Linked DNA regions of Homo sapiens: regions 1, 2 and 3 are each linked to region 4. The links are contacts of gene promoters, found by promoter capture Hi-C in blood cells and fetal thymus (Javierre and others, 2016). All regions are on one chromosome and are shown on one strand. The core of a region is centred on a gene start or on the middle of the fragment in contact, and the rest is flanking DNA. Distances in the headings are between cores, read along the strand shown.

The links. Contacts are between HindIII fragments. The CHiCAGO score rates a contact against its expected background, and 5 or more counts as called.
Region 1: a fragment that was not itself captured here is called in contact with the fragment with the promoter of SLITRK3 in region 4 in 1 of 17 cell types (M0 macrophages); the score reaches 6.3 in M0 macrophages.
Region 2: a contact is called between a fragment that was not itself captured here and the fragment with the promoter of SLITRK3 in region 4, in 1 of 17 cell types (M2 macrophages). The highest score is 6.8, in M2 macrophages.
Region 3: a fragment that was not itself captured here is called in contact with the fragment with the promoter of SLITRK3 in region 4 in 1 of 17 cell types (M2 macrophages); the score reaches 6.4 in M2 macrophages.

The regions. Positions count from the first base shown.
Region 1 is chr3:163,046,030-163,048,729 of GRCh38, reverse strand. No RefSeq gene overlaps it. Among named protein-coding and RNA genes, the nearest start is that of LINC01192, 260 kb to the left of the region's middle. The HindIII fragment of the contact is 3,037 bases long and covers 1-2,700 here.
Region 2 is chr3:163,062,914-163,065,613 of GRCh38, reverse strand. No RefSeq gene overlaps it. Among named protein-coding and RNA genes, the nearest start is that of LINC01192, 240 kb to the left of the region's middle. The HindIII fragment of the contact is 1,296 bases long and covers 743-2,038 here.
Region 3 is chr3:167,352,964-167,355,663 of GRCh38, reverse strand. All of the region lies in intron 8 of ZBBX (zinc finger B-box domain containing), which reads left to right. Among named protein-coding and RNA genes, the nearest start is that of ZBBX, 26 kb to the left of the region's middle. The HindIII fragment of the contact is 1,033 bases long and covers 768-1,800 here.
Region 4 is chr3:165,195,027-165,197,726 of GRCh38, reverse strand. SLITRK3 (SLIT and NTRK like family member 3) reads left to right here and starts at 1,343. Exons shown (of 2, transcript NM_001318810.2): 1 at 1,343-2,147. The HindIII fragment of the contact is 7,642 bases long and covers 1-2,700 here.

The DNA of each region.
Region 1 (2,700 bases), core at 188-2,687, 2.1 Mb after region 4:
ACAGGGTCAGGATAATCAATATCACTGTCTTCCACCTCCACATCTTATCCCACTGAAAGATCTCCAGGGGCAATAACACACATGAAGCTGTCATCTCCTATGATAACAATAGCTTCCTCTGGAATATCTCCTGAAGGACTTGCCTGAGGCTGTTTTACAGCTAACTTTTTTTTTTTCAATAAGCAGAGGAGTATCATCTAAAATAACAATAAAAATGTAGGATAGTAAATACATAAACAAGTAACATTGTTGTTTATTGACTACCATTAATTATTGTGTGTTCTGTACTATACATATTATATTATGTATTAAGTGTTCTGTACTGTACATGTTATATTTTCTATCATTTTGTATGACTGGCAAAGCAGTAGATTTGTTTACACCAGCATCACCACAAACATGTGAGGAATGCCTTGTGATAAAATGTTACCATGTCACTAGTCAATGGAAAATTTGTAGCTCCATTATATCCTTACTGAACCATTGTAGAATATGGGATCCATCACTGACTGAAATGTGGTTATGCGGAACATGACTACATGACTCTATCTGTTTATATGGGTTTTATACCTTAAATCTGAATTGTTGCTTATAGAGAATGCCTATCATGAGCTCTTAGACATATTCTGAAAGAGTTTTCCAAAGACAGTACCAAAATAGGTATACACATTTACTCTCCCACCAGCAATGTGTAAGAGCTCTGTTTTCTTTACATTCTTGCCGATACTAGGTCTTGTCAGCATTTTTCATTTAGCTCTCCTGGTGGGTGTTGTGTTGTATATAGCATCTCATTCTGAGTTTGTTTTGCATTTTACTATTGCTTGATGAGTTAGAACTTTTTTCTCTTTTTTTGGATATTTTGATATCTTCTTGTCTATAAGCCCTGTTCAAATCTTTTTCCAAATTTTCTATTAGATTGTCTTACTGATTTTAGTTTTGAAACAAGGTCGAATGTAACACCTTTATCATATATGTGTGTATGTATAGGTATATATGAATTAAATTTAAAATATTTTTTCCATTCTATGTTACATTTTTCACATTCTTAATAATAGATTAATTTATAATTTAAATATACTATACATTATCAAATTTTTCCTTTATAGTAGCAATTTTTGCACTCCTTTTCAGATATCTTTACTGAACTGAAAGACAATTATTCCCCTACATTTTATTCTAATAGACTTACTTTTGTACTTTTTAGATTAATATACATTCTATCTGAAATTGTTTTTTTGTGTAGAATGTGAGGAAGTTTTTTTTCCTTCTTTGTATATTCAATTGACCTAACATCATTTTCAAAAGGTCATTCTTCCTCCACTGCATTCCACTGCAATTTCTCCATTCCACAATGTCACTTTGTCCTGAGTCATGGCACTATATGTGTGAATTTGTTAATTCAACAATTTAAATCTTTTCTTCAGCCAGCACAAGTCTCCTTTGAAAAAATGCTTAAATAATTGTATATTGCTCTCTACCCCGAAAGATGAAGGGAGAGAGGACTATGTAAATTACCACAATGACTTTCAAACTTTTTTACTACAACTGAAAGATAGAAGTAAATTTTATATTGCAACCCAATATACACAGAACATAACACACACATACACACAAATACACACACACACACACACACACACAAAACCTGTGGGTGTTTGTAATTAAATGGCATGGGTTCTTCTTCTAAAGGTAGCATCTACTTTCCTTTAGAACCATTCTTGAACAAACTGTGTTCAAAACAGCTTCAGCAGAAAACGTTTTAAGAGGATGAAATGAAAAAAAAATTACTTTGTTTAGTACTTTCAGATATACATACATCCAAAAAATATATACAAGCATACTTATATATCATGCTCAGTAAGACAAGTATGTTAAACATATGCCCCATGGTCTTGAATAATGACTTGATTGTCTAATAAATCTTTATTATATTTGTAAAAAAAAATTACCAAAAAGGGAAAAAATTCAGAAATGTTTTTCAAAGTTATGATTGCTGGCAAGAAGTAAAGCAAATAGAGCTTATAAAAACCTACCATCATATAAACATTTAGCATGAAGGCCATAGATGTAATAGACGGACATCTATCTGTTGATGTTATCAACTCCTTTTATTTTCCTTTGTTCAATATTTCATGAAGGGTAAAGCTATATTGTAAAACTTTATCATTGCTCATGATAATGTATATTTAGATTTCAAATACATGTTTGTATGTAGATACATGCATACAGATGTGTGTGTGTGTTTGTGTGTGTGTATTTTAGTGACTGACTTACATTTTAGTAAAAGAAAAACAGAAAATATGAGAAGGCCATCATACTGAACAAATACAAAAGGAATATATACTCAATCAGGAAGTCAGACGTTGACTACTAGATATTTTTGAACTTCTTGCTATGGTACCACATACTGCTTAACCTCCATAAACTCTGCTACAGCCTATATTTACTCATTGTGGAGACCTAAGGAGTTAAAAGAAAACTGAAGCATGTGCTTAGCTGACAAAAATAGAAACAGGGAGAATATTCCAACAAATGGAGTCAACCACAAAAGGCCCACCAGCACCCAAGCATCCTGTTAACCATTGCTCAGCTCACAGCCCACCTGCACCCAGGCATCCGCTCTGCAAGCATTCAGCCTAAACAGCATGACCTTATAAACCGCTCCTGCATTATCAAATCAAAAATTTGATAATATGTATT
Region 2 (2,700 bases), core at 141-2,640, 2.1 Mb after region 4:
CAAGTGTTGAGTTCAAGACCTGAATATCTTTGTAAATTGTCTGCCTTGATGTCTGTCTAATATAGTAAGTGTGGTGTGGAAGTCTCCCACTATTATTTTATGGGAGTCCAAGTCTCTTCCTAAGCCTCTAAGAAGTTACTTTATGAATCTGGGTGCTCTTGTGTTGGGTGCATATATATTTAGGATAGTTAGGTTTTTTAAAGTGAATTGATCCCTTTACCACATATATCTTAATGCCATTTTCTGGTCTTTCTTTTTTTTGGTATTTGTGGGTTGAAAGCCTGTTTTGTCTAAAATTAGGATTGCAACCTTTGCTTTTTTCTGTTTTCCACTTGCTAGGTTCATTTTTCTCTATTCCTTTATTTTGAGATGGGTGTCATTGAATGCAAGATAGCTCTCTTGAAGACAGAATACATTGTGTTTTTTTCTTTATCCAGCATGCCACTCTGTGACTTTTAATTGGAACACTTAGTGTGTTTACAGTCAAGGTTAGTATAAATATGTGTGGATTTTATCTTGTCATTGTGTTAGGTAATTGTGGTGCAGACTTGTTTCTGTGGTTGCTTTATAGTATCACAGGTCTATGTACTTAAGAATGTTTTTGGATTGGCTGATCATTGACCTTACTTTCCATATTTAGTGTTCCTTTAAGGACCACTTACAAGGCAAGTCTGGTGGTAAATAATTCTCTCAGCATTTGCTTCTCTGAGAAGGATCTTATTTCTCTTTCACCTTTGAAGCTTAGTTTCACTAAATATGAAATTCTTGGTTTGAGGATTTTTGCTCTAAGAATGTTGAATATTGGCACCCAATCTCTTCTAGCCTACAGGGTTTCTGCTGAAAAGTGTGCTGTTAGCCTGATGGGGTTGTCTTTGCAGGTTACCTGGCCTTTCTCTCTAGCTGCTTTTAACATATTTGTCTTTCATTTGGACCTTGGAAAATCTGATAATTATGTTTCCTGGGGATGATAGTCTAGTGTATTATCTTGCAGGGAATTCTTTGCATTTCTTAAATTCAGCTGTTGGCCACCTCTCTGGCAAGTTTTGGGACATTTTCATCAATAATGTTTTGAAATATATTTTCCAAGTTGCTTGCTTTCTCCCCATTTCTTTCAGGGACACCAATGATTCATCAATTTGGCCTCTTTATGTAATTCACTATTTCCTGATGGTTTGTTCATTCCTTTTTATTCTCTTTATTTTTGTCTGACTGTCTATTTCAGAGAGACAGCCTTCATGCTCTTAGATTCTTTTCTCAGCTCAGCCTATTCTGTTGTTAATACTTGGCAATTGCTTTATCAAATTCTTGTAGTATGATTTTCAGTTCTATTAGTTCAGTTAGGTTCTTTTGTATACTGGCTATTTCATTTGTCACCTCTTGTATCATTTTATTGTGAATCTTAGCTTCCTAGAATTGGGTTTTGACATTTTCCTGAATCTCAATGATCTTCATTTTTATCCATATTCTGAATTCTGTTTCTGTCATTTCAGCTATTTCAGCCGAGTTAAGAGCCCTTGTTAGAGAATTAGTTCAGTCATTTGGAGGACAGAAGGCTCTGACCATTTGAGTCACCGGAATTCTTGCACTGATTCTCATCTCTGTGTGTAAATGTTTCTTTAACTGTGATGTAGATTGAATACAGTCAGTAGAATTTTTTTCTGGATGTTCCCAGAAGGCCAAGGATTCATGCAGCATCTTTGTTTGCAGCTGACTTCGTGTCTTTGGTTTCACAGCAGGGTATGTTAGCAAAGTACTTTTGGTGTTGAATTTTGGGGGTAGAATACAGTAGGTTAGTAGGTGGGCTCTCATTCCAGTATGTGGACTGTCATTCTAGTAGGTGTTTAAGTGTAACTGCCAGTTAGTAGGGCACAGTAGGTGGGCTCTCATTCTAGTAAGTGTCTAAGTGTAATTGTCAGTAGGTAGGCTCTTGTTTAGTCACGTGTTTTTTTCTATATTTCCTTGCAGCTGTAGCTGTGCTCCCTCTCAATGCTCTGAAAATGTGGGTTCCTCTCCCACTTGAGAGCTGCAGATCAAAGCTTGGCACTGCACACCACAGCTCTAGATCCTGCCCAATGAGGAGAAATGGGATTGGGAACCTGTGTAAAATGGTCTGACTGCCTTTCCATAGGATGGCTGTGCTGTGCTGGCAATCTGCTTCAGGCACTGGTTACCTTGGACTCCCCAGAGCCTGAAGACAGCAGCTGTGAAGGCTACAAAAGAGCAAAATGGTGGCCTGCTCCTCTCTGTGGGTACTCTGTTTCAGGGAGATGCAGTCCTTCCTGGCCTGAGAACTGCAGCAGGTGTGTCTGGAGCCCCTGGTCAGGAGGTCTTGCCAAGGGAGAAGAAATGGGATCAGGGACCCATGCAAAAAATGGCCACTTCTCCACAGGGAAGTCATGCTGCACTGAGGGTCCACTCCAGTTCTCAGTCCCCTCAGACTCTATAGAGTCTGAAAGCAGCATCAGGGAAGGCTGGAAAACAGTAAATATGGTAGCCTGCCCCTCCATCTGGAACCCCAGTGTCATAGATGTGGAGCATTGGTGCTCGCCAAAGTACACAGGCCATGGGAGGCTGGAATCCCAGTTAAATGGGTCTTGTCCTGTGAGGTGCCATGGAAGCGAGACTGCAGGCCATTGCTGCCCAGCCCCCTGGACTCAGTTCCTTTCCTGGGGGTGTGCAAGGGAGGCTGATCTCCCCTTT
Region 3 (2,700 bases), core at 35-2,534, 2.2 Mb before region 4:
CATCTGTCATTGCATATGGTTATGCTGACTGGATAATGAGTGAATATATATATTTGAAAGCCACATATGTGTATATATGAATATATATATAAAGGATATATATATCTATGTATATAGATATAGATATATGTATATCCTTGGCCTTCACCAGGGAAAATTGTGTATGGGAGATAGGAGTTAAGGGCTTGTGTTTTGGGAGTTTGAAACTCAACTTTACCTGTTATTAGCTATGTGACCTTCAGCAAATGACTTAATCCCTCTTTATCTCTGTTTCCTCATTTGTGAAATAGGTTACTACGGATAACAGTAATCTGTACCTCAAAGTTATCACACGTAATGAGTTAATACATGTAAAATATTTAGCATTGTGTCCAGCACATAGACGGAAGACAATAAACAGTGTGTTTTGTTGTTGGCAAATTTTTAAATGACCTATCCATTTACATATATTGATGGCAAAGACGAAGCCCAAAAGTTCCACTTTTCTTATATATTAATTTGGCAAATGTGAATAATTTAATTAAACTCAAATGGATTCTGAAGCTTAGCACAACTGATCTGGCATTCATCAAATTAACAAGATATTTGTTAAAACTGCAGTTGGATATTCCATCATTGAGGAAGCATCTGTGGTGGGAAGGAGTCCTTATTTACATTTTTAGCATGTTTCTGCCAGTTGTACAAACTGCCTAAAAAGATTTTCCAATTGGAGGTCATTTTAACTCAATTTTAATCCAAATATCCTTGTATAACAAAATATATAAGCTTACTCTGCAAGTCCAGCATTGATCTTCCAGTCTACAAATATTCGTTTGGCTACTTTTACTAAAAGTATGTTGTTAACAGACACTTGGCTTAGAATTATATGCTGAAACTCATTTTCAGTTTTCTGCATTATAGTGTAAAAACAGTGCCAAATGTTTAGGAAAAATTCACTTAAAATTAGCAAGTTATATTAAATAAAAATTATGCAGAATATATTTTGAAATCCATATTAATATAATGATATAACCATGTATTTATATAAAATTATAGTTTTAAAGTTTATTTTACACTTAAAATTACGGATTTAGGATAATGTTTTTATCATTTCTCTAGAAGAATGAAGCTCATGAAACAAGAATGGAAAGAGGGGACTAGTTTCTATGCTAGGGATAGTGTTTTTTTTTCTTCAGATTAAGTAAAAATTCCATCATCTTTTAGCTAATCACACTTGAAAAACATACATTTGGATTTTGATACATACCAGACCATGCATTCTTTTTAAATACTGAATTTTATTTTATTGTGGATTTTATCAAGGTTTTTCGATATAAATGGTCCCTGACTTACCATTTTTCACTTACAATTTTTTGACTTTATGATGTGTAAAAACAGTATGTATTCAGTAGAAACCATACTTCAAAGTTCGAATTCTGATATTTTCCCAGGCTAGTGATATGTGGTAAAATACGATGCTAGGAAGCTCATAGTCAGCCATGTGATCATGAAGGTTAAAAAAAACACAAGATATTCAACAATTTATTATAAAATAGGTTTGTGTTAGATGATTTTGCTCAAATGTAGGCTAATGTAAGTGTTTTGAGCACATTTAAGGTTAGCTAGGCTAAGCTATGATGCTTAGTAGGTTATTTGTACTAAATATATTTTCAACTTACAATGTTTTCAATTTATGATGGGTTTATTGGGCAGTAGCCACATTGTAAGTTGAAGAGTGTCTGTAACTGATCACTATTTTAGTTTATTGTAAATGATTAATTTAAAGATTAGTAATGTTTGTTGTGGTTAAGGGTTTAAGCTTTGAGCCACATGGTAGGATTGAATTCCTGTCCCCACCACTATTAGCTTGTATGACTCTGGACAAATTCTTCATCATTATGTTCTTTTGTTATCTCTTCTTCATTATGGAGATACAAGGGTGATTGTAAATTTATAGAGTTGTTGTGAGGATTAAATGAGATAAAACATATAATATCACTGCTCTGTTATAATTTATTATTATTATTTTTATTTTTATAGATTTAGTTGGTACAAGTGAAGTTGTGTTATCTGGATATATTGTGTAGTGATGAAGTCTGGGCTTTTAGTACCCATCATCTGAATGGGAACATCATAGCCACTATGTAATTTTTCAGTCTTTACCCCTTTCCCACCCTTCCAATGTATGGAGTGTCCAGTGTCTATTTTTCTACTCTGTATGTCCATGTGTTTAGTTAACACCCATTGTTTAGCTCTCCCACTTACAAGTAATACATGCAGTATTTGACTTCTTGTTTATGAGTTATTTCACTTAGGATAATGGCCTCCATCTAGTTCCTTTCATGTTGCTGTAAAAGATGTAAAATCATTCTTTTTCATAGTGGAGTAGTATTCCATGGTATATATCTTACAATATTTTCTTTATCCAATCAATTGATGAGTGTGTCAGAGAAGCCATTAGGGTTTTCTAGGCATAAGATAACATCATTAGCAAACATAAATAATTTGACTTCCTCTTTTCCAATTTGGATGCCTTTTATTTCTTTCTTTTGCCTGATTGTTCTGGCTAGGAATTCCAGTACTATGTTGAATAGAAGTGGTAAAAGTAGGCATCCTTGTCTTTTTCTAGTTGTTAGGGGCAACGTTTTAGACACTTCCCAGTTCAGTAAGATGTTGGCTGGGGTTTGTTGTCTTATGACTTTTATTATTTTGTGAATGTTT
Region 4 (2,700 bases), core at 94-2,593:
TTGCCTTCCTTGGACAATGTATTGCATTCTCTTCAGGAAGAAATGGCAAGAGATACAGAGATGATTCCCCAGGCTACCTTCTATTCACTTTGGGAGTTAGTGGAAGACTGCCCTCTTTCCAACACAGTCTCTGATGAAAGGGATCTATTAAAAAGAATTGCGTTGGTTTACACTGCAGATTGAATGGAGCATTAAACGAATGACTGCATTAGTATGACTGCAGTGGGGGTAATGGTCGCCTCTGTAATGTTGTAATAATACTTTCACATACGTGTTATTACACGTATTAATTGTTCCAGTGTCCGTATCTAATTTATCGCGAAATGGTATCCAGCATCTCTCAGGCAAATGCCCCCCTCCCAACTCCCTGTGCCCTACAGTTTTATGCCCCCCGCCCCCGGCAAATGTAAACAGATGAGGAAATATGTGTACTTTCAAATCGTCACCCATGTATCATGAAGGTGGGGGATTACTGCAAATCACTTGGAAACCGCTCCCCGGAGGCGTTTAGCGATACCGCCCACCAATACAGCTCAGATGTTCTTAATTTGATCACCCTCCACCTTTTGGGCTGTAATTTTCCAAACAGGCATCTCTCTCATTTGCAAATAAAAGTTACAAATCAATCCACGGGTACAGAATGCTGACTTCCCGACACTCAATTTCACAGGGTGTCTCTTGAAGAGCTGCCAGGTTGTGACCGATAATGGGGGAGAGGGAAAGGCGGACAGCGAAAGCGAGAGAGAGAGAGCGAGAGCGAGAGCGAGAGAGAGAGCGAGAGAGAGAGAGACAGAGAGAGGAGAGAGAGAGAGAGAGAGAGAGAGAGAGACAGAGAGAGAGAGAGAGAGAGAGATCACTTGCTTCCTTGCTTCCTAAGCCGGGATTTTGCCTGCGATGCGCGGCGAGAGGACTGCGGCGGCTGATTTACACAGTTGGCGCGGAGGAGGGGCCGGGGGTGCGGGGGGGACGCGCTGGCGGAGCTCCGGCGATGGGCTGATCTGGGGGCTCCCGAGCGCCGCTCCCTTGGTGCGCGATTTGGGGGCGGCTGATGGATTTGCATTCAGGTTCCAGCCCTGCGTTTCCTATATTGACTCCTTATACACGACCTGGCGCTCCAGTTTAGGAGGAGACGTTGGTAAGTAACGTGTAATCCGATTTTAGTTATTTCCTAGGCCATTAAAGTGGCACTTTTAAAGCAGGTCAGTCTTAAAAGATGCCGCCGCCGCCGCCGCCGCGAGCGTCTCCTTGGCCTGAAACGTTCAGCAGTCCCCTCCCCCTCCCACCCCCCTCCCCCGCACCTTCTCCCGCTCGAGAAGTGAGGGTGCTTGAATGGTGAGCGGTCAGAGGACTCACTCTCTGCCAACGGTATCGCTTCACCTTCGTGCTTTGCCTGAGATCTCCCAAATCCAAGTGGAATTTGGTGTGCACAGCCATACTGTGTATTTGTATCTTCTCTCCCCCTCTCCTTCTTTCCCCCCACCTTCGCCGTCTGACCAATGCTGGGATCTGAGATCTAGTCGCCCCCTTCCTGCCTCCTTTCCGCCTCTCCCCACCCTTTTCTTCTCTCATCTACACGCCACCAACCCCCACTCCCACCCACCTAAAGGGCAAAGAGCAAAGACACCCTGGAAAAGCAAGGGCTAATTCCATCTTCTCGGATGGAAGGAGGCCTCGGGCAGGGATTGCGCTGTGAGTGACAACCTTTGAGGAAGAGAGAAAGAGAGAAATCCAGAGACTGAGCTCAGGCTCTCGGGAACAACGAAGCTCTCCACTGATCCAGAGCACCGAGATTTTAAATCAAAGGAACCTAGTCCTGGGACACTCACTCTGCCTGCCTGCCTACCAACCATCGAGGGCATAGGGAGCTGTGGTCGTGAGCTCCCTGTCGCTGGCATCGCCGCGCTAGGTGCGCGCCCCGCTCTCCCATTGGTATGCAGCGACCATTTCCCTGCAAGTCTCAAAGGTGGAAACATTTAAACGGATTACAAGCGTGATTCGGTAGCCTTTCGGAAAGTTGGTGGCCAGAAGAGGAGAAGCTACAAGGCTACAGTATGATGGATACAATTCAGCTTCGCAGAGAGTTTGCCCCTCCTGCTGGGTAGCCCCTCGCAGCAAACCTCGGAGATCCTGAGCGCTCTGCACCATAGGTACTCGCCGCCATCCTTTCCTACTTCGCCTAATTGAAACCAGTATTTCTCGTATGTAGGATGTGCATTGTAGAGCACATCGAGTTTGGCCGCGGTGTATTCTGTACGCTCACAGGTGCTAGGGGTTTGTTGCAGTTTTGAATTGGATCAGTTAGGTGTAAGGACGTTGGTGGAAGGAGGGGTACCGGAGACTAACATACCCTCGGACCTCTTTTCTGGGTGAAGACATCGTAAGTAACTCCAACAAATAGGCCAGGTGGCGGAGCGAAGGACCCCTCCCCCAGTGGAATGCTCGCTGGTGTTGTAAGAGGTAGAAGGAAAAAGGCTTGAGCTTTTAATAATTTTCCGTTTCTAAACAGACCATTGTGCGTTTCGCCTGACGACAGCAGATTAGAAAAGGCTCTATAGACGGCTCAAAGCTCTTCAGAAAATGAATGATGCAGCGTTTTAATTATTTGTTCTAGGGAAGATAGTTTTGCTTCCATATTGGAATACTTAATCTTAGATCTGAAAAAATTAGTGAGCTGTAAGATCCAGCAGTGGGGAGGAGGAA